Linked DNA regions of Homo sapiens: region 2 is linked to region 1. Evidence: promoter capture Hi-C in 16 types of primary human blood cells and fetal thymus (Javierre and others, 2016). All regions are on one chromosome and are shown on one strand. The core of a region is centred on a gene start or on the middle of the fragment in contact, and the rest is flanking DNA. Distances in the headings are between cores, read along the strand shown.

Evidence for each region. Contacts are between HindIII fragments. The CHiCAGO score rates a contact against its expected background, and 5 or more counts as called.
Region 2: the fragment with the promoter of SLC2A13 here is called in contact with the fragment with the promoter of CPNE8 in region 1 in 1 of 17 cell types (total CD8 T cells); the score reaches 5.7 in total CD8 T cells.

Annotation. Positions count from the first base shown.
Region 1 is chr12:38,903,301-38,909,376 of GRCh38, forward strand. It overlaps CPNE8 (copine 8), which reads right to left and starts at 2,291. Exons shown (of 20, transcript NM_153634.3): 1 at 2,137-2,291. The coding sequence starts at 2,234. CPNE8-AS1 (CPNE8 antisense RNA 1) reads left to right here and starts at 2,412. Exons shown (of 2, transcript XR_007063275.1): 1 at 2,412-3,697; 2 at 6,010-6,076. RefSeq lists a silencer at 2,276-2,445 and an enhancer at 3,576-3,835. The HindIII fragment of the contact is 5,959 bases long and covers 456-6,076 here.
Region 2 is chr12:40,103,242-40,109,317 of GRCh38, forward strand. It overlaps SLC2A13 (solute carrier family 2 member 13), which reads right to left and starts at 2,840. Exons shown (of 10, transcript NM_052885.4): 1 at 2,012-2,840. The coding sequence starts at 2,567. RefSeq lists silencers at 2,274-2,363, 2,374-2,443, 2,464-2,723, 2,744-2,993, 4,375-4,504 and an enhancer at 3,994-4,163. The HindIII fragment of the contact is 3,714 bases long and covers 370-4,083 here.

The DNA.
Region 1 (6,076 bases), core at 1,041-3,540:
CACTAAGTATTCAGGTTCTCTTTCAGGATTTTTTTTTCCTGTTAGAAATCTTAAAAATTAAAAACAAAATGTCAAAGCAATGTTATGAAAAAAAGCTGGAACAAGGGATTTGCAGGTTCTGAGGCAGCAAACTGAAACAAATTGCCTTAAGCCAATTGACTTCAGTATGCCCAGCACACTCACAGAAAACATGCATCAAAAAAGGGGCTGCATTAAACATGGGCCCTACTGGCAGAATGACCAGTTTAGGTATAATTTCCCTTAAAAAGCTCATGGAAAAATTCAGACTTGATTGACAATATTCTTTTATATTCATTCCAAGTATAGGCCACATGCCATTCAGACTTTGCAGACTGTTGAGCAGAGGATAAGAACTCTAGTAATGCTGTTATTGTAGGACTTCCGGCTATCCATTATCTGTATATACCAGTAACTTCCCTCTAACATCGAAAGCAAGCTTCAGAGAAAAGAAAAAGGCCTAGGAATCCTCTAAAGAGTTTTCCAAACAGCTTCACCTGTTCCATTGACAGAAAAATCTCAGGCAGCACTTAAAGCAGTGACAGCAATGAGGCAAGAGCTTAATGATAGCTATCATTATCAGCATGATTATTTCCATAGTCCCAGATCAGTCTTAAGAGGCGGCAAACAATCAGGTGATATAGTTTCAGGGCTAGATAAAGGCTGTCCCCTACCCTCAAATAATACTTCTACTACGGTTGCTGGTGCTCGAATTTTCACCCCCAGAAAAGAATTCCTTTGGCTTTAGGCTCAGTTTGTGAAAATGCAAAGTCAAGATTGATGGAATTTTAAACTTATTTACATCAAGATCACCCAAATTTGTTAGATATCTTCAAGGCAAGTTTGCTAAGGAAAGGAAAGGGAGGATGTGAGGGCATAAAAACAATCTTAGGGCAAAAATGGATAAATGAGGAGCCAGTTTTCCAGTGAGACAGACCCAATTATGCAAACAAGGGAGTGGGCTCCAGGGTCAATATTAATTCGCAAATTAGTGGCCAGTACCAATTTAGCACCATCGCTCATCTCCTTCTCAAAATCATCTATGATATAGCGGTGATGCTGCTTTATTTACAGGGCAACTAACCGAAAGGTCAGGACAACGAGTTTGCAATTTACAGTCTCTGGACAGGGTTGAAAGTCAGTTTTTTTTTGTTTTTTTTTTTTTTTTGAGATGGAGTCTTGCGCTGTCGCCCAGGCTGGAGTGCAATGGCAAGATCTCAGCTCATTGCAACATCCACATCCCGGGTTCAAGCGATTCTCCTGTCTCAGTCTCCCGAGTAGCTGGGACTACAGGCGCGTGCCACCACGTCCGGCTAATTTTTGCATTTTTAGTAGAGACGGAGTTTCACCATATTGGCCAGGCTGGTCTCGAACTCCTGACCTCGTGATCCACCCGCCTTGGCCTCCCAAAGTGCTGGGAATACAGGCGTATAAACTGTACTGAGCCACTGCGCCCGGCCGAGAGTCAGTTTTTACAAGCACTCAGATGTGGGCCCGAAAACAAATCAAAACAAAAGTCGTGACTTCCCAGATCTTAGGTAAGGCATAGATTCGTCTGCAAGGAGGGCCGAAATCTCTACCTATCAGGCAAAAGGCAAAAAGCCCGGAAGGGTCGGGGAGAAGCAAGCTGGAAGGCTCCAGGAAGTGGGTGGGGAGGAAGCTGCCGGGGTTGGAGCCAACCCTAGCAACAGCAGGTTTGCACACGCCTAGCAGAGGAAGTCCCGGGCCTAAGCGTGCAGCGGTCACAAGAGCTTTTGGCAGTGCTGTCCCCTTCGATTCCGGTCATCACCCAACCATCCAGCCCGGGTTTGGGGCGGAAAACCGGCTTGTAAAGTGGGCGGCGGCCGGTGTTCCCACAGCTGAGTCACAGCCCAGCCAACTTTTACAGCGTTTCCCAGAAAGAAAATACAAAGTCTCAGTCCCGGAGCCCACCGCTTCTAATTCCCGCTCCCCTGTGTCACCTGACCCGGGGTAACTCCAGCCCCACTACTGAGATATTTCCCACTCATGGCGCAACTTCTTGCCTGCGCAAAGCCTCGTGGTACCCCGAGCGCTCTCCAAGTGCTACCAACCCCACAGATGAGAGGGCAGGAGAGAGGGGAAGGGCTGCGTCCTCACCTGCAGGACACGGACACCTCCACCCGCGTGGCCGGGATGGCAGCGCTCAGCTGGTTCAAGTCCCCGATGCCCGCAGTGCTGTTGTAGCGGCTGTCCATATTGGGAGGAGGCGCCTTGGACTTGTCCGGCGCCCACAACCACAGCTCGGGCGGACTGAGGGCTAGCTCCCGTCAGGCGGGGATGGGGGTTGAGGGTGGAGGCAGAAGAAGGAGGCGGAGGCAGCGCGCGGGATGGGGGAGGGAAGGGAGGAGGCGGACCTCCGCGCAGAGCCACGAGGGAACCGCTAGCCAGTCCTGGGTGAAACTGACGCTGCCAGGCAAGTGGCGCGCGGGGATCCCGGTTTCCCAGCCCCCTTCCGGCAGGCAGCAGCCCGGGCGGGGGACACACTCCGTGATCCCCTCCTGGCTGGAGGGGTCAGGCTTGGTGGACCCAGCAAGCAGCCTGATGGAGAAGGTGGCACCAGACGCAGACCCCTACCGTCCAGGACCGCAAGCCCTCGCCGGCTCTGCGTGCTTTTAGGTTTTGTCTCCACCTCTGCACACCCACACTCGCCTCCTGGGCCGCGACAGCTTCCTTCTGTCAATCAGGTGTGGACGGGAAGGTCTCGAAGTTTCCTCGCCTGAGTTGAAAGCTGGAGGTGGGGGCACCTCTGCCCGTTCCTAACTGCCCCGTTATAAGGTCCCCCTCCCCACAATTGGTTCTCACCTCGCCCTCGGAGCTCTTGGGAGATCCCTCCGTCCCTCCTACTGTGCCCTCGGGCAGATGAGTCTGGTCCCAGCTTCTGGACTGCCCACTGTCGGCCACTTGAGAGTTGGGGACGGTGGGGCATTGTGACGCTCTCCAACCTTGGAACACGGTGGCAAAGTGGCCGATCAATATATGGGACAAGTGGGGGCGGGGGGGCGGACTCTAAGGTGGAAAAAACAATACTACTTGGGATTTAAGGAAGCAATCTGGATTCTGTCTCCCCTTGGTTCTTCGGAGCTTAGAGGTCTAACGGCGACATTCCTCCTACAGTAAGGGCTCTTCTGGGTCCCTCGTTTCCAAAGGCATGAAAGTTCTGACCTGAAAATGGGGGCCGGGGAGGGTGATGTCACAACCATATAACGCAGCTCCTTCAGCCGACTCCCACCCGCAAGAACTGAGACCTGACGGATAAAAGCAGAGAGGAGTCAGAGTGAGCGCTGCGTTTGGGAAACTGCATTCCAGGGCAGCAAGACTGGTGCCAAGACGGAGTCGTGGCAAAAGCATCCGGAGGTAGACGAGGCGCCCCTCCACTGCAGGGACCTTTGTTCCCCGCGCCTTCCCTCCTGCCTCACCCGAGCGCCTGCGGGTCCCGGGAGCTCGCCACCAGGCGGCGACGGAGAACAGGATGCGGCGCAGCTGGAAGGCAGAGGGTGGAGAGGGGGCGGGTGTCCGTCCGATTTAACGCTCCAAGCACGGAGTTTCCAGCTGGTTGGGCTAAGTCTGGGAGGAGCAGTTTTTGCGGTGGAGGACTTGCCTTGCGTTGTAACATTTTAATCCACTTGCAGCCTCCTGCCTAGAGAATCTATAGAGGCGGGTGAGAGTGTGTAGGTGCAGTCTTGCCGATTCCCCTGCCGAGTGTACTTCCCCTGTTTCTTCTTGCTTTCCTTTCCTGATTTCCCCACCCACCGCTTTTTCTTCTTTTTTTTTCCTTCCTCTTGTCCTATTACAAATTAAACTGTAGTTTACTGCGATTTGGAAATGCCCTAAAACCCCAGGCATTTCTATTATGCTGCTCAAAGTTAATTTGGCATAGAGATCTAGGTTTTTTTTTAAGCTCACCAGAATTTTACTTTACAGAAGCCTACTGAAGAGATGAAACTTGAGAACTTTAGTAGTCAACATGTGGGATACTTACATCCAATTTGTTTCCACTTCAGTGAGGTATAACATATATAATGAACTGCACTTAAAGTGCATCCATCATTCGATAAATGTTGACTCATGTATCTCCCTGTGAAGCCATCACCAAAATCAAAATAATGAATCATTCCATCACCCAAAAGTTTTCTTACGTCGTAATCAGTACCTCCTTTCATCACTGAAACAACCCTCTAAGCAACCACTGATCTTTATGTCACTATAGAAGAGTTTGCATTTTTAAAAATTATGTATGTGGAATCATAAAGCAGGTAGTATTTTTGGTCTGGCTTCTTCCACTAAGCAAAGTTCTTTTGAGATTCATCTATGTTAGCATCAATAGTTCATTCTACTTTTTAAATATTTATTCATATATACAAAGAAATAAATTTTTAATTTATTTTAAATTAATAAATTTCATTTATTTAATGAAATAAATTTTTAATTTATTTCATTGTATATATGCGCTATAAATTGTCCATTCACCTGATGATGGACACTTTGGTTGTTCGAACTTTGGGCAATTACAAATGAAACTGATATGAACATATATGTACAACTCTTTCTGTGGACGTATGTTTTCATTACTTCTGGGTAAGTACCTAGGAGTGGAACAGCTGGATCATATGGAATGTGTATGTTTAACTTTTTAAGAAACTATTAAGGCCAGGTGCGGTGGCTCATGCCTGTAATCCCAGCGCTTTGGGAGGGTGAGGTGGGCGGATCATGAGGTCAAGAGATCGAGACCATCCTGGCTAACGTGGTGAAACCCTGTCTCTACCAAAAATACAAAAATTAGCCGGGCATGGTGGTGTGCGCCTATAGTCCCAGCTACTCCGGAGGCTGAGGCAGGAGAATCTCTTGAACCCCTGAGGCAGAGGTTTCAGTGAGTGGAGATTGATCGCGCCACTGCACTCCAGCCTAGGGACAGAGCGAGACTCTGTCTCAAAAAGAAAAAGAAACTATTAAACTTTTTTTTCAAAAGAGTTTTACTACTTTTCTTTACCACAACAGTATATAAGAGATCTGGTTGCACACATCCTTGCCAACATTTATGATGGTCTTTTAAATTTTAGCTTATCTAACAGATGTGTAGTAATATCTCATGTGGCTTCATGACAAATGATGTTGAACGTATTTTCCTATGTCTTTTTGCTATGTGTATACGTATCTTCTTTGGTGAAGTGTCTTCATATATTTTACTTATTTTTTTATTATGTTGTTGGTTTTCTTATTTCTGAGTTTTGAGAATTCTTTATTCTGTATCCAAGACCTTTATCGCATGTGGTTTACAAAATATTTTCTGACAGTCTGTGGCTTGTGTTTTCATTCTCCTGTCTATCAAAGAGAAGAAGTTTCTAATTTTGATGAATCTAGTTCTTCAACGTTATCTATTATAAATCATAATATTGATGTCAAAACTAAGAAATATTTGTCTAATGTGAGATCACAAAAATTATCATCTTCTATACTTTCCCCTAAAATTTTAGTTTTAGGTTTTACGTTTATCTCTATAATTTATTTTGGTTTTTCTAATCAAAGTTCTCATTTTTACACATTGTCATCAGATTTTGCTAGCACCATTTGTTGAAAATACTACCCTTTTTCATTGAAAAATCTTTGCATCCTTTGCCAAAAATTAACATATATCTATGAGTCCATTTTTTAGACTCTATCCTATTCCATTTACCTATTTGTCTTTCTTTAAGCCAATGCCACAGAGTCTTGATTACTATAGCTTTAAAATAACTCTTAAAGTCAGGTAGTATAAATTTTCCAACTTTGATCCTCTTCAAAATTGTTTTTTCATTTTTAATCCTTCTCATTTTCATATAAATTTTAGAATCAGCTAGACAAGGTCCACAAAAAGTCTTGTTGAGATTTTCATTGGGGTTGCATTGATTCTATGGACAAATCAGAGAATAATTGACATCTGATCCAAATTTATCTTCTGATCTATGAACATTATATATCTTTCCATTTATTTAGGTCTTCCTTAATATATGTCAGCAGTGGAGTGGTGTGCTTAAGGAGAGAGAGACTTGGAAAAATACAG
Region 2 (6,076 bases), core at 1,590-4,089, 1.2 Mb after region 1:
TTCCTTCCTTTACCCATTTTGCCCCTTGCTTAGAACGTCCTTTCCTCGTTTCTGTTAAAATACTGACATGTCAACATACCATTTCCATTGGTAAGAGCTTCTGGCTTCCCTCTGTTGGAGATAACTGTACCCCCTCTGAATTCATCAGCCATCTCTGATAACCTATCTTATAAAGCTTAGCAAGTTCTACGTTGCTTTTGCCCCAGCTTGCTACATTTACTAAAGTATAATACATTCTCCTCACTATTCAGCTCACAACATCTGGAAGGGGACCTTACACAGAACAGGGCTCAATTCGCAGGTCAGATAAAAAGAGTAAACATAATACCCAAGATTTTAACCAATACCTGCCATAGCAAAACACTAGGAAGCTTCATTTAGACAGCTCTGCAAAGCATGATTCAATTTCAAAATTACAGAAAAGATTGAGGTTGACAGAACAATTCTTGCTACCTAAAATGATGTTATTTCTATGTCAGAAGCAACAAAAAAGGTCCAGATGTCCCAAGCAGACAATGCTGAGAAAAGAATCGTGGTCACTTAAACAGCAGGTTATTTGTTGAAGGGTCCTGAAGGCCCAAGTAGTTTCCACACAAATAGGTTTCATTTCAGCTGGATTTTTTGGTCACTTTGGATATTTTTGTGCCAACTTAATATGTTACGGAGAGCTTTGCCCTACCTTTGCTAATTAACAGTACAATAAACAGCAAAAGGAAGGTCACTACTGACAAACTTTGAATATAAAGTGCAGTGAGCTGGGTTTTAGGCTCATGGTTCCCGCATGTGGAGTTGAATATATGGCCTTTGCTTCCCTTCAGAACCCACAGAGAAAGGGTGAAAAGCACAAACATCAAACAAGTGGTGAATACACAGATCAGCAGCAGCCCCAGGTTTAAAGCGCTTTCATCAAGCCCCAGCCATAGGGAAGAAATACTTCAACAGCACCCTAAGGGAAACAAAAAACTGAATTATGAAACGAAACATTAAAAAAGCATCAGCGGTGTGTCTTAGAAAAATTACTAGTGAGATTTAAGTCACAGCCCCCCACTTTCCCTCAAAAGTGCTTTCTAATAATACAGAGCACATTCCAAATAGCTTCCCTCTGCCAAAAACTTGCCAATTGTACCTCCCCTGCTCAGCAACCAGGGTGAAAAAAATTCAACGCCAGGAGAACCTTAATGCCTTCATTTTTGAAGTAAATTCCAAACATTTATCTTGCGGGGCATTTATCCACAGGGGGAGTAGCTCCTAAATGAATTAAGGAAGTGAATATGACCTTTAATAGATAATTTGGTTCCCAACTGGAAAGCAGGAGAGGAAAAACAAAGAGGAGAATGGATAAAAAAGGATTCAAATGAAAAAGTTGGAAAAACAGAGGAGAATGGAATTTACTTGGGAAAAGAATGAAAGCTGAAAGGCAATAGAAAAAGCATAAAAGCAAAAGGAGATGCCATCTAAAGACAAATGCTAGATAAGCAAAGAGGGCAGGGGTCGCTAATAAACCTTTCAGAGTCCAGAATTACTTAACTCTAAATATTATCTCACTGTAACTTGACGATGGTCTAGGTTCCAGGCTGGGAGCCCCAGAAAACGAAAGGGGCTAGCAGTGGAGAGGCAAGGTGGGACAGTGCAGGAAAGCAGAGACCCTCGTAAGCTCAAGAAGCAGCATCAGGTTAGGCTGGATCAAGGAAAGAGCTGGTGCTCAGCTAGGTTTCTGGAAGTGCTGAGAGGCAACAACCACTTGGACTGACTGGTCCGTGGCCTATCAAAGATTCCACGTGCGCTCGAGGGAGACTAGAGTGACACCCCCTCCCCCCCGACCCTCCCACCTCCCGGGAGAGCCTTGGAGGCTGGACCAACAAACAGATGGGCTCTGGAGGCCAGAGAAGTGGAGGATTCTCTGACCCTGGGAGACCAGACGGGGACCCCGATGGGCAAGAGGCACGCAACACCCAGGGTCAAGGGCGGTGACAATGGGATCCCGGGCGCCCTTCACGGAGCCCGAACTCACCGATGCCGAGTCCCACGACCAGGCGGCCGGCGAGCAGTGTCTCCTTGTTGTTGGCCGCAGCCAGCACCGCGGAGCCGGCGGTGAAGAGGGCACTGGCCAGGAGGATGGCAGCGCGGCGGCCGAAGACGCCGTTGAGGGCGCCTCCGGCCAGCGCCGAGACGGCAGCCGCCCCCACCGTGCTGGACACCAGCAGCTCCTGCCACAGCGCGTCCAGACTGAGCTGCCGCTTGAGCAGCAGCATGGCCCCTGACACCACCCCGGTGTCATAGCCAAACAGGAAGCCGCCCAGCGCGGAGAAGACGGCCACCACGTACACGAAGGCGGGGGTCTCGTCCTGCTGGAACTGCCGCCGCGCCGCGCGCTCCAGGTCCCCGACGCCGCCGCCGCCCGCGCCCGCGCTCTGCAGGCTGGTGCTCGATTCGGCGGCAGCCAGGAGGCTGCACTCCCCGGCCGCGCTCGCCGCGTCCGGCTCCGGCTGCTTCCTGCGCCGCTCGCCCATCAGGCTGCTCAGGCTCCGCAGCGTGTACTCCACATTCTCGCTTGCCTTGCGGGACATAGGGCAGGGGCCCGGGGCTGCCCGGGGGGACGCGGCTCCGCGGGCCGGCAGTCTCGGCGAGCTAGACAGCCCGAGCCGGCGGGAGCAACCGCCGCTGCCGCCGCTTTCTTCCTCCCGGCTTCCGCTCCGGCTGCCACGGCAGCAGCCGCCGCCACGGCCGCTCCGGGGAGAAAGTTGCTGCCCGCCGCGCTCCGACGCTGCGGAGTTGGAGCCCGGCGGGTCTCACTCCACACTCACGCCCCGCGCCTGCCGAGCTGGCGCTGCGGAGCGGGCGGGAGGCGGGACCGCGGGTCACGTGCAACCCCGGGCCGGCGGGGCGGGGCCCGGGAAACGTCCCGCCCCCTCCTTGGGCGGGGCCAGGCTCAGCCCGCCCCGGACCCCTAAACCCCGCCCTCCCGGTGGGTGCGACCTCTGACCTAGGCTCCCTCATTTAGGGCTCTGGCAACCGTATGGAATTAACCCTGCCTTCCGAGCTGCAGCGGTGGAGCAAGCCAATGTGGCGATGCCATCAGGCAACAGGCTTCCAGACGGGAAGCCACCCAGAATGTTTGCCGTGTTTGGAGAGGAGGGAGAGAGCACCTAAACCAGCCTCACTGTCCTTCCAGCAGCCTAGAGAGAGGGCTGGAAAAAATATCCTAGAATAGGACCTAGCAAGTACCCTTCCTTTTATAGTATTGTGACATTACCCAGCGTGGTCTACTTCCCTGGCATTAAATGTGTTTGTTCTGGAGCAATTCAGGGCTGCATGCTCCCATTTCTATAGCTAGTTTCCACTCTCATCGCCAGTCCCTCCTCAATTTATGCTTATTTTAAAGGAATGGTACATTTGATTCTTTGAGGACAGAGAACATATCTCTGTGGTGAATCCCAAACCCTCCTTCCATGGATCCCCGACCTGTAAAAGAAAATTCACATATATGCATTCCACTCATGTAACGGGTAATTCCCAGAAATAGAAAGAAAACTCAAGACCCTGATTTGTGATTCGGCAGGCAGTCTCCATTTCCCCGCCCCAACATGCTAACCAAAAGGTAGGATAGCTTCTCTCCTGAGAATCCCCACTGTTGCCCTCCATGAGGCACTGTTTTAACAGCCTCATTTACTTGAAACAAAGCAAAGATAACGTTATTTGCAACCAATTTTTTAAACTGTTGAGTGAATTAACAGTTGTTGGTTCATTTGGGGTTTGTTTCCCCCTTTAATTTAAATGTTTTTAAAATATACAGTTGCGCATCAGGGGCTAAAGATAGTTTGTTTTGTTTTGTTTTGTTTTTGAGACAGATTCTCGCTCTGTCGCCCAGGCTGGAGTGCAGTGGCGCTATCTCGGCACACTGCAGCCTCCGCCTCCCAGGTTCAAGCGATTCTCCTGCCTCAGCCTTCCTAGCAGCTGGGACTGCTAAAGATGTTTTGTGCCTCTAATTTGCTTTCATTCTTCAGGCTGAGGGCAAAAAGTCAAGCATCATATGATTCTATTCCTACAATTCCACTGCTCTTTTATTTCCCTTATTTGAGCAAAAGCTTTCTTAGCCTGGGGCCTATTTTTCATGCAGCTATAACTTTTTTCCTTTCAGACAAAAGGATTTTGTCATTCCTGTTTCAGTAAAAACTTATATTAGAATTTGTCAAAACTGCTTTCGTTTTGATTATCAGTCACGATTATCTCTACAATATAGTACTTTCCTTGCCAGCAACAAGGAAAAATAAACTAATGAAGCCAGACGGCTTAACTATTTAAATGTTATCGTCTGGCTTTAAAGCAAGGCTCTACCGTCATTCCCAGGCATCAGTTAAACAGAGAGAGCCTTTAGATCTGCAGCAATGAACTCTTTAATATTCAGACCTCGGACAATATTGCAGGTGAGAGCGCGCCTTTTCCGCGGCATGCTACGGTATAGTAAAACTGCGCCCCCTGGTGGTGAGCCAATTCCCACGGCTTCTGAAGAGAAGGGCTCCGCAGATGAGAAGCATCTGGTTCTTTGACAGTTCCCTCTTGCTGAGATGAAAATAAACTACTTTTTGTCTCAGCTGGTGCAGTGAACATCTTGGTTCCTGAGCATTCCTTGCTTGAAATTCAGCTTTGGGGTCATAGAACAAGAAACTACTTTAAAAATTCTGTTCCGTATTAGGACAGTTATGTATCTGCGGTCAGGTTACATTTTAAAAGAAATGTGACGTGAAAAAAAAGGCATCGGAGGCCGGGCGCGGTGGCTCACGCCTGTAATCACAGCACTTTGGGAGGCTGAGGCGGGTGGATTACGGGGTCAGGAGTTCAAGACCAGCCTGGCCAACGTGGTGAAACCCTGTCTCTACTAAAAATACAAAAGTTAGCCGGGCATGGCGGCACGCGTCTGTAATCCCAGCAACTCGGGAGGCTGAGGCAGAGTATTGCTTGAACCCAGGAGGCGGAGGTTGCAGTGAGCCGAGATCGTGCCACTGCAATCCAGCCTGGGCGACAGAGCGAGATTCCATCTCAAAAAAAAAAAAAAAGCTTCGGAGAGTTAAACAGAATTCGTCTCAGCCTTGAGAGGGAGTCCAGTTCAACTTAGCATCAGCGCGTGAGTCTAATATGGAGTTCCCCAAAGTCGGCCCCAGCTGCGGTTTATGATGAACTGGAAAACCCATGGGCTGAGAATCAAAAGAGATGAATGTCAACACCACCATTGTTTTACCGTAAAACTTTCCACAAACCACAAGATTAGCTTGTGCTTTGCTTTTTTTTTTTTTCTCTCATTTGAAGAGCAGATAATGGTGCAGCAACTACTCATTGACGAGAGTGTTAAAGGGTATTTTTGAAATATAATTAATTGCTATTGCAGGGCAAATTTAATTACAAGAGTCATTATTGGTTTGCAGTGAGTTCTATAGTTCCAGCTTTGAGGATATTTGCTTTACAACCTCCAGTAACATGTTCCAAAGCAGTCTAACAATAAAGAAAGGCGAAAAGCCCCTTCTCAATCGTCTTTCCCACCATAACAGACCCCTTTGGCCAGAGATAACCACCTCTACCACTTTGAAATATATCTTTCCAGAACTTTCTCTATGAATTTATATGCATATGTATGTACATGGTAAAATACATATATATATATTGTTGTTTTATTTGTTTGTTTTTGAATTGTTTTGGATGCAAGAGATAGAGAATCGAGATCAAACTGGTTTAAGCCAAAATAATGGGAAAGAGGGAGTACTTATTGTCTATTGTCTCTGAAAACTCTCTAATAAGTTGGCGTCAAGTGCAGTTGGATAAAGGACTAAAAACACCAGGATGTCACACAGACGTCCATTTCTCCACTCTGCTTCCTACTCCTTAGGCTCCATTCTTAAATTTTATGTGGTGCTCAAAGGGCTGTAGCAAACTCCAAGCCCTATACCTGAGATAGTTTGGATATTTGTCCCCATCAAAATCGCATGTTGAGATGTAATCCCCCGTGTTGAAGTTGAGGCCTGACAAGACTAGTTTAGATCCTGGGGGTGGATCCCAAATGAATGGCTTGGGTCATCTCCTTGGC